Linked DNA regions of Homo sapiens: region 2 is linked to region 1. Evidence: promoter capture Hi-C in human tissues and cell types (Jung and others, 2019). All regions are on one chromosome and are shown on one strand. Each heading gives the region's core, a stretch centred on a gene start or on the middle of the fragment in contact. The rest is flanking DNA. Distances are from core to core; before and after follow the strand shown.

Region 1 (4,622 bases), core at 166-2,665:
ACACTTTGGGAGGCTGAGGCGGGCGGATCACTTGAGGTCAGTAGTTGGAGACCAGCCTGGCCAACATGGTGAAACCCCATTCCTACTGAAAATACAAAAATGAGCCGGGCGTGGTGGCGGGCGCCTGTAATCCCAGCTTCTCAGGAGGGTGAGGCACGACAATCGCTTGAACCCGGGAGGCAGAGGTTGCAGTGAGCCAAGATCGCACCACTACACTGCAGCCTGGGTGACAGAGTGAGACACAGACTCAAAAAAAAAAAAAAAAAAAAAAAAATCTGGCCGGGCGCAGTGCCTCACACCTGTAATCCTAGCACTTTGGGAGGCTGAGGAGGGTGGATCACCTGAAGTCAGCAGTTCGAGACCAGCATGGCCAACATGGCGAAACCCCGTCTCTACTAAAAATACAAAAATTAGCCGGTTGTGGTGGCGCACACCTGTAATGCCAGCTACTCCGGAGGCTGAGGAAGGAGAATTGCTTGAACCCGGGAGGTGGAGGTTGCAGTGAGCTGAGATCGCGTCACCGCTCCAGCCTGTGCGGCAGGAGCAAGACTCCATCTCAAAAGTAAATAAATAAATACATAAATCTGAAGGTTCTATCAGACTTCAAAGTTCCTGCCTCAGCCTACTTCAGCATCTTTATCTTGTACCCCACATCTCTACAACCCACCCCCTACTGGTCTCATTGGCCTCCTTTCTGTTCCTGGAAGTGAGTCAAGCTTTCTACCCACAACCCCCACCCCACTCCACTCCAGGACTTGCACTGTTTGTTTAGGTTTTCTTCAGTTGTTGCAAGGCTGGCTCCTTCTCATCTCAGATATCTGTTCTAGATTAATTCTTCCCACCATACTTCTCACCGTGTTTTAATTCCTTCACAGTATTTGTTAAACTCTGAAGTTTTTTTTATTATTATTTCCTATCAAATGATAAGCAGATCTACCTTTAATACCTCATTCACTGACTGAATGGATGAATAAAACTGTCTACTTCTCCAGCACGTGGAGGTCTTGGACAGTACTGTGTTATAACAAAGGCCATCTGTGTTGTGTCGACAGGCCATCGGAACTCCTTTGAGGTATTACACATTTCCTACTTCACTTCCATCTCAGTTTATTACAGAGCCTTTTATACTTCCGGGACAGCAGTGACTTAATACTGAGGCCTCTCAGGGGAAGACCGGGATAACTGAGTCCTGCTTTACCTATCTCGGCTTGCAAGAAACGGTATAGGTGGAGGCCTCTTTCAGTGTATGCCGGCGCTCTAGGTGAACCGAGACATAGAGGTGGAAGTGGAGTAGAAAGACGGGGCCAACCGGAAGGGGAGGGCTCATGGGCGAACCCACCCCTCCAGGCAGGGTTTCGCCCCTCGCCCCGCCCCTTCCCCCGCCCGGACGGCCATGGCCATTCCCGGCATCCCCTATGAGAGACGGCTTCTCATCATGGCGGACCCTAGAGATAAGGCGCTTCAGGACTACCGCAAGAAGTTGCTTGAACACAAGGAGATCGACGGCCGTCTTAAGGAGTGTGAGTGCACCTTTCTTTCCATTTAATCAAGTGCCTCGACTCGCTTCTGCCTCTGACAAAGCAGAAGCCTTTCGCCGAGCCCGGCAACCGAGCCTTAGAGATGACCAGGCCTAGGGCCAGGGACAAGGCGCTTTGTCATCCGGCCCTGAGCTTGTGGAGCAGCACTCCTTCGGGTGTAGAAATGGCCCAGTCCAGCCCGGGTGACAGAACATCGGCGGCCTTGAGGTGAAAATGAAAAAGAAGTAGAGGAGGAGTGGGGAAGTGGGCCGAGGATGTTTCCCAGGTTAGGGTGCAAGAAGGGCAGTCTTGGTGGAGTCCCGGGACTTGGAGAGGGGAAGGCGCTTGAGTCAAGTAAGCTCAAACAAGAGATGAGACTCAGGGAGTCGGCTTGTTCTTGGAGTCGAAAGACGGCCGCGGAGCTTAAGAGAGAAGTGTTCCAGTTGTCATAATAACCCATATCGTCTTGTGTTTCGTGTTGTACTGTATCAGGCATACAAATTTCCCTTACCTCCTGAGTGCTTAACTTTTTTTTCCAGTGCATTTTCATTGAAAAGCATGAGTAGTTTAATTAAATGGAGGACCATAATTACATGATTCTGTGGAGAACTGCATTTGTTGACTTTATTTAGGGTAGAATGTCAGAGAACAATCCACGTGGGTAGGTGAAGAGGTGAGGAAGGGTCTAAGTGATTATCATTCGGATTTGTAGTCGCAAATCCTAAGTGTCAGGGTGTCAATATCTTCTAAGACTATAACTTAAGATGTGCTTAAACAAGTATTGCCGATCAACAAAGTAAAAGTATGGTGCTTTCTCTGTAACATTTTGTTGTTATACATGCCACCTACTCATTACAAACAGCATTATTTCTTTTATGGTTTGAAACAGTGGATGTGAAACTTAGGTAAAGTGAAGTAGACTTACGTAAACAGTAAAGTGAGACGTAGCGACTTAAACACACTAAGATTACTGTTCAATTAAAAATGTTCAAATTGTATTATTTCAGTAAGGGAACAATTAAAAGAACTTACCAAGCAGTATGAAAAGTCTGAAAATGATCTGAAGGCCCTACAGAGTGTTGGGCAGGTAGGTGATGGAGTTTGGGGAATAGGGGGTGATGGTAATTTGCTTTTTTATTTAGCTGTTGCCAAAAAGTAATGCTTTTTATTTTCTTCCTTAGATCGTGGGTGAAGTGCTTAAACAGTTAACTGAAGAAAAATGTGAGTGATGAATTAGCTTATTAATTAGTAAAGAAACAGTCCACCTCTCTCTCACTTTTGAAATGCTTATTATTTTAATGACAATAATGCAGAGAGAGAGAGTATTTTTGAATAGACTTAAGTTTTCCTTCAACTAATGTCTCCTTGGAGGACAGAAATACAACTAAACCCTCTGTCAACGTGGGTATGTATTTTTTTACTTTCTATTTTTCAATTAGTTCTTTTATGTTTTTTCTTCTAGTCATTGTTAAAGCTACCAATGGACCAAGATATGTTGTGGGTTGTCGTCGACAGGTAATACTTTATATTTGTATAGTGCCTGATGATTGACAAAGCAGTTTCATGTAAGTTATTGTCTCTAATTCTTGAGGCAAGCAGGTGGAGCATTTATGCCCATAACTCACAAGGATGATTTGTTCAGACATAGCTAGTTATTAACAAAGCCTGAATTCAAACCATGGGCTTTGACTCCTGGCATTCCGTACTTTCTACTGTATTACATTGTCTCAGTCAGATCTGTTAATAGCCACTTAGAAATAAAAGTATTTTAGAACTGGAAAACAGACATTTTATTTTAATGTCATTTTTAAAGAGGACTTAAAAGTGTTAGATATCATCAGTTACCTGTGTTTATATTTAGACATTCAGAACTGTTACTTATGGACTGTACCATGGCCTAAGTTAATTTTGTATGAGGTCATTTAGATTAGGGTAGGGCAAGTTGAAATAATTCTAAATTTTATTTTACAGTTATCAAAGATGCCAACAAATGACCTCAAGTCATTCAGTAGTGTCTGAAATCAATTTATGTATTATTCTTTAGGAAGTGTCCTTAGATAATTCTTTTAAATTCATTGGAAGAGTTTTCTCTGTTTAATTGTCATTTCAGGTTCAGGTTTTAAAACATTCACAGAACATGGCTGTAAGGGAGAATTTAATCCAGGAACTATAAATCTCCTATTAGGATTTTGCCTAGTATATAAGCGGTTGACATTTTCTAAGTCAAAATATTAGATACCTAAACTGACAAGGGATTTTCATGTCCCTTTCAGGGCTCTGTGGATGCCGAAAGTTGGCATTTCTAAGATATTTCAGGTTGCATGAGGACAAGACTGTATTTGAAGACTAAAAAACATTAGAAAAGCCGAAGTATATATAAGTTGAGTATCCCTTATCCAAAATGCTTGAGCCAGAAATGTGTTTTAGATTTTGGCTTTTTTTTTTTCAGGTTTTAGAATATTTGTGTTGTACTGGTTGAGCATCCCTAATTAAAAAAAATCAAAAGTTTGAAATGCTCCGATGAGCATTTTCTTTGAGCATCATGTCAGCATTCAAAAAATTTCACATTGTGGAGCATTTTGGATTTTCAGATTAAGAATACTCAGCCTGTATTTCCTATAGATGTAAACATTGAAATAGCTTCATATTGATTTCTCCTCTTATTTTTTCAAGTAACCTCACTTCTTAGCCGTTTTTTCCTTAATTGTTATATTAATCCTAGTGTTTTGCCTATCTTCCTAAATTTGAAGCTCTTTGTAAAATCCTGTGACAAGTGGTCAGTAATTTATATGATTCCGAAATTGTATTGGCACGCAGTTTTTTAAACTATTAAAAAGTAACTTGGGTCGGGCGGGGTGGCTCATGCCTGTAATCCCAGCACTTTGGGAGGCTGAGGTGGGCAGATCACGAGGTCAGGAGATCAAGACCAGCCTGACCAACATGGTGAAACCCCGTCTTTACTAAAAAATACAAAAAAAAATTAGCCGGGCATGGTGGCACACACCTGTAATCCCAGCTACTTGAGGCTGAGGCAGGAGAATTGCCTAAACCAGGGAGGCAGAGGTTGCTGTGAGCCAAGATGGCGCCACTGCACTCCAGCCTGGG
Region 2 (4,714 bases), core at 760-3,259, 610 kb after region 1:
ACACTTTGGAAACTCACAGTTTTTCATCTGTCTTGTGGAATTTTCAGTGGTGTGCTGCTTCTTTCAAAGGATGTGTGAACTCTTTCGGTTTTCCTGGTACGTTCCTGTGGTGGTTCTTGGAGCAAAAGTCCATGGTGTGAGTCTCTTCATGCCGTTCTGTCCATCCAAATGGGAGCTACATGTTAGCCCTTTCTCCTATCCTCTATCTTCTTGAAAATCCCCCTCTTGTATAGGTCTTAAATTGGAAATTGTACCTCTGTCTCAAGCTCTTTATCTCTATATCTCTTGACACACACACTGTCACACACACAAGTATTTGACACATCTGCCAGGTGTTTATTAGCACTTTATGTACATTCAGTCCTCAGATTGACTCTAGGAGATGATATGAAGGATTTGAGGATTGTGGTTGCCTCCCTAGTATCCATTCTGCCCCTCTCCTATTGCAGTTTGTTCTAATTCCCAGATCCCATTTCTCTTGCCAACAGGTGAACAAAGATGACCCAATTAAAGGGAGGTCCAGGATTTTTGTTAGATGGTTAGGGAAGACACTCCTGTTTATTGAATATGAATGGGGAAATATGAAAGTCCAGAAGCTTCTGGCAGCCACCTTTTCCATCACAGTACAGCCAGCCTTGGGGTGTGTGGATGTTCCCAAGAGCAGAGCAGACAATGGAAAGAGGCTGGGTATTTAGTGAGATTGCTGAGCCACTGAAGATTTCCCTACTATTGGGCTTTTCAGTTTTATGAGACATTAAATTCCCTTATTCATTTGGGTCTTGCGTTCTATTACCAAAGGCATATTAACTGAAACATGTAAACATTTTCTGCATTTTACTGGTGAAACCAAATCTCAGAAAGCCTGGGAATGGCTAGATACACTGATCCTTTAGAAAATGTCCAAGGCACAGTTAGGACCAAACGGGGATTGGAACCCAGGATATCTGACTCTAACCTCCATGCATGTAACAGCTACATTATTTTTTCTCTTCAAGAAAACTACTGGAGGGTGGTTCCAAGATGGCCAAATAGGAACAGCTCCAGTCTACAGCTCCCAGCATGAGTGATGCAGAAGACGAATGATTTCTGCATTTCCAACTCAGGTACTGGGTTCATCTTATTGGGGATTGTCAGACAGTGGGTGCAGGACAGTGGGTGCAGCGCACCGAGCGTGAGCCGAAGTAGGGCAAGGCATCACCTCACCCAGGAAGCGCAAGGGGTCAGGGAATTCCCTTTCCTAGCCAAGGAAAGGGGTGACAGATGGCACCTGGAAAATCGGGTCACTCCCACCCTAATACTGCGCTTTTCTGATGGTCATAGCAAATGGCACACCAGGAGATTATATCCCGTGCCTGGCTCGGAGGGTCCTACGCCCACGGACCCTTGCTCATTGCTAGCACAGCAGTCTGAGATCAAATTGAAAGGCAGCAGCCAGGCTGGGGGAGGGGCATCTGCCATTGCTGAGGCGTGAGTAGGTAAACAAACCTGCCGGGAAGCTCAAACTGGGTGGAGCCCACCGCATCTCAAGGAGGCCTGCCTGCCTCTGTAGACTCCACCTCTGGGGGCAGGGCATAGCCAAACAAAAGGCAGCAGAAACCTCTGCAGACTTAAATGTCCCTGCCTGACAGCTTGGAAGACAGCAGTGGTTCTCCCAGCATGCAGCTGGAGATCTGAGAATGGACAGAGTGCCTCCTCAAGTGGGTCCCTGACCCCTGGGTAGCCTAACTGGGAGGCATCCCCCAGTAGGGGCAGACTGACACCTCACACGGCCGGGTACTCCTCTGAGACAAAACTTCCAGAGGAACGATCAGGCAGCAGCATTTGCTGTTCACCAATATTCGCTGTTCTGCAGCCTCAACTGCTGATATCCAGGCAAACAGGGTCTGGAGTGGACCTCCGGCAAACTCCAACAGACCTGCAGCTGAGGGTCCTGTCTGTTAGAAGGAAAACTAACAAACAGAAAGGACATCCACCCCAAAAACCCATCTGTACGTCACCATCATCGAAGAACAAAGGTAGATAAAACCACAAAGATGGGAAAAAAACAGAGCAGAAAAACTGGAAACTCTAAAAATCAGAGCGCCTCTCCTCCTCCAAAGGAATGCAACTCTTCACCAGCAACGGAACAAAGCTGGACGGAGAATGACTTTGACGAGTTGAGAAAAGAAGGCTTCAGATGATCAAACTACTCCGAGCTACAGGAGGAAATTCGAACCAATGGCAAAGAAGTTAAAAGCTTTGAAAAAAAATTAGACAAATGGATAACTAGAATAACCAATGCAGAGAAGTCCTTAAATGACCTGATGGAGCTGAAAACCAAGGCACGAGAGCTATTTGACAAATGCAGAAGCCTCAGTAGCCAATTCGATCAACTGGAAGAAAGGTTATCAGTGATGGAAGACGAAATGAATGAAGTGAAGTGAGAAGAGAAGTTTAGAGAAAAAAGAATAAAAAGAAACGAGCAAAGCCTCCAAGAAATATGGGACTATGTGAAAAGACCAAATCTACATTTGATTAGTGTACCTGAAAGTGACTGGGAGAATGGAACCAGGTTGGAAAACACTCTGAAGGATATTATCCAGGAGAACTTCCCCAATCTAGCAAGGCAGGCCAACATTCAAATTCAGGAAATACAGAGAATGCCACAAAGAAGCTCCTCGAGAAGAGCAACTCCAAGACACATAATTGTCAGATTCACCAAAGTTGAAATGAAGGAAAAAATGTTAAGGGCAGCCAGAGAGAAAGGTCGGGTTACCCACAAAGGGAAGCCCATCAGACTAACAGCTGATCTCTCAGCAGAAACTCTACAAGCCAGAAGAGAGTGGGGACCAATATTCAACATTCTTAAAGAAAAGAATTTTCAACCCAGAATTTCATATCCAGCCAAACTAAGCTTCATAAGTGAAGGAGAAATAAAATCCTTTACAGACAAGCAAATGCTGAGAGATTTTGTCACCACCAGGCCTACCCTAAAAGAGCTCATGAAGGAAGCACTAAACATGGAAAGGAATAACCGGTACCAGCCACTGCAAAAACATGCCAAATTGTAAAGACCATCGAGGCTAGGAAGAGACTGCATCAACTAATGAGCAAAATAACCAGCTAACATCATAATGACAGGATCAAATTCACACATAATAACAATATTAACTTTAAATGTAAATGGGCTAAATGCTCCAATTAAAAGACACAGACTGGCAAATTGGATAAAGAGTCAAGACCCATCAGTGTGCTGTATTCAGGAGACCCATCTCACGTGCACAGACACACATAGGCTCAAAATAAAAGGATGGAGGAAGATCTACCAAGCAAATGGAAAACAAAAAAAGGCAGGGGTTGCAATCCTAGACTCTGATAAAACAGACTTTAAACCAACAAAGATCAAAAGAGACAAAGAAGGCCATTACATAATGGTAAAGGGATCAATTCAACAAGAAGAGCTAACTATCCTAAATATATATGCACCCAATACAGGAGCACCCAGATTCATAAAGCAAGTCCTTAGTGACCTAAGGACTAAGGACCTAAGGATAATAAGTGATTATTATCACACAATAATAATGGGAGACTTTAACACCCCACTGTCAACATTAGACAGGTCAACGAGACAGAAAGTTAACAGGGATATCCAGGAATTGAACTCAGCTCTGCACCAAGCAGACCTAATAGACATCTACAGAACTCTCCACCCCAAATCAACAGAATATACATTCTTTTCAGCACCACACCACACCTACTCCAAAACTGACCACATAGTTGTAAGTAAAGCACTCCTCAGCAAATGTAAAAGAACAGAAATTATAGCAAACTGTCTCTCAGACCACAGTGCAATCAAACTAGAACTCAGGATTAAGAAACTCACTCAAAACCGCTCAACTACATGGTAACTGAACAACCTGCTCCTGAATGACTACTGGGTAAATAATGAAGTGAAGGCATAAATAAAGATATTCTTTGAAACCAACGAGAACAAAGACACAACATACCAGAATCTCTGGGACGCATTCAAAGCAGTGTGTAGAGGGAAATTTATAGCACTAAATCCCCACAAGAGAAAGCAGAAAAGATCTAAAATTGACACCCTAACATCACAAGTAAAAGAACTAGAACAGCAAGAGCAAACACATTCAAAAGCTAGCAGAAGGCAAGAAATAACTAAGATCAGAGCAGAACTGAAGGAAATAGAGACACAAAAAACCCTTAAAAAATTAATGAATCCAGGAGTTGGTTTTTTTGAAAAGATCAACAAAATTGATAGACCGCTAGCAAGACTAATAAAGAAGAAAAGAGAGAAGAATCAAATAGACGCAATGAAAAATGATGAAGGGGATATCACCACCGATCCCACAGAAATGCAAACTACCATCAGAGAATACTACAAACATCTCTACGCAAATAAACTAGAAAATCTAGAAGAAAGGGATAAATTCCTCGACACATACATCCTCCCAAGACTAAACCAGGAAGAAGTTGAATCTCTGAATAGACCAATAACAGGATCTGAAATTGAGGCAATAATCAATAGCTTACCAACCAAAAAAAGTCCAGGACCAGATGGATTCACAGGCGAATTCTACCAGAGGTACAAGGAGGAACTGGTACCATTCCTTCTGAAACTATTCCAATCAATAGAAAAACAGGGAATCCTCCCTAACTCATTTTATGAGGCCAGCATCATCCTGATACCAAAGCCTGGCAGAGACACAACAAAAAA

The links. Contacts are between HindIII fragments. The study calls those that stand out against the background at their distance.
Region 2: a fragment that was not itself captured here is called in contact with the fragment with the promoter of PSMC6 in region 1 in 1 of the 25 tissues and cell types used here (mesenchymal stem cells).

What each region holds. Positions count from the first base shown.
Region 1 is chr14:52,705,785-52,710,406 of GRCh38, forward strand. It overlaps PSMC6 (proteasome 26S subunit, ATPase 6), which reads left to right and starts at 1,416. Exons shown (of 14, transcript NM_002806.5): 1 at 1,416-1,520; 2 at 2,525-2,604; 3 at 2,699-2,738; 4 at 2,980-3,032. The coding sequence starts at 1,436. RefSeq lists enhancers at 967-1,076, 1,097-1,156, 1,457-1,706, 1,727-1,776. The HindIII fragment of the contact is 7,628 bases long and covers 1-4,622 here.
Region 2 is chr14:53,317,036-53,321,749 of GRCh38, forward strand. LOC105370504 (a long non-coding RNA gene) reads left to right here and starts at 3,617. Exons shown (of 4, transcript XR_943876.3): 1 at 3,617-4,714. The HindIII fragment of the contact is 3,682 bases long and covers 169-3,850 here.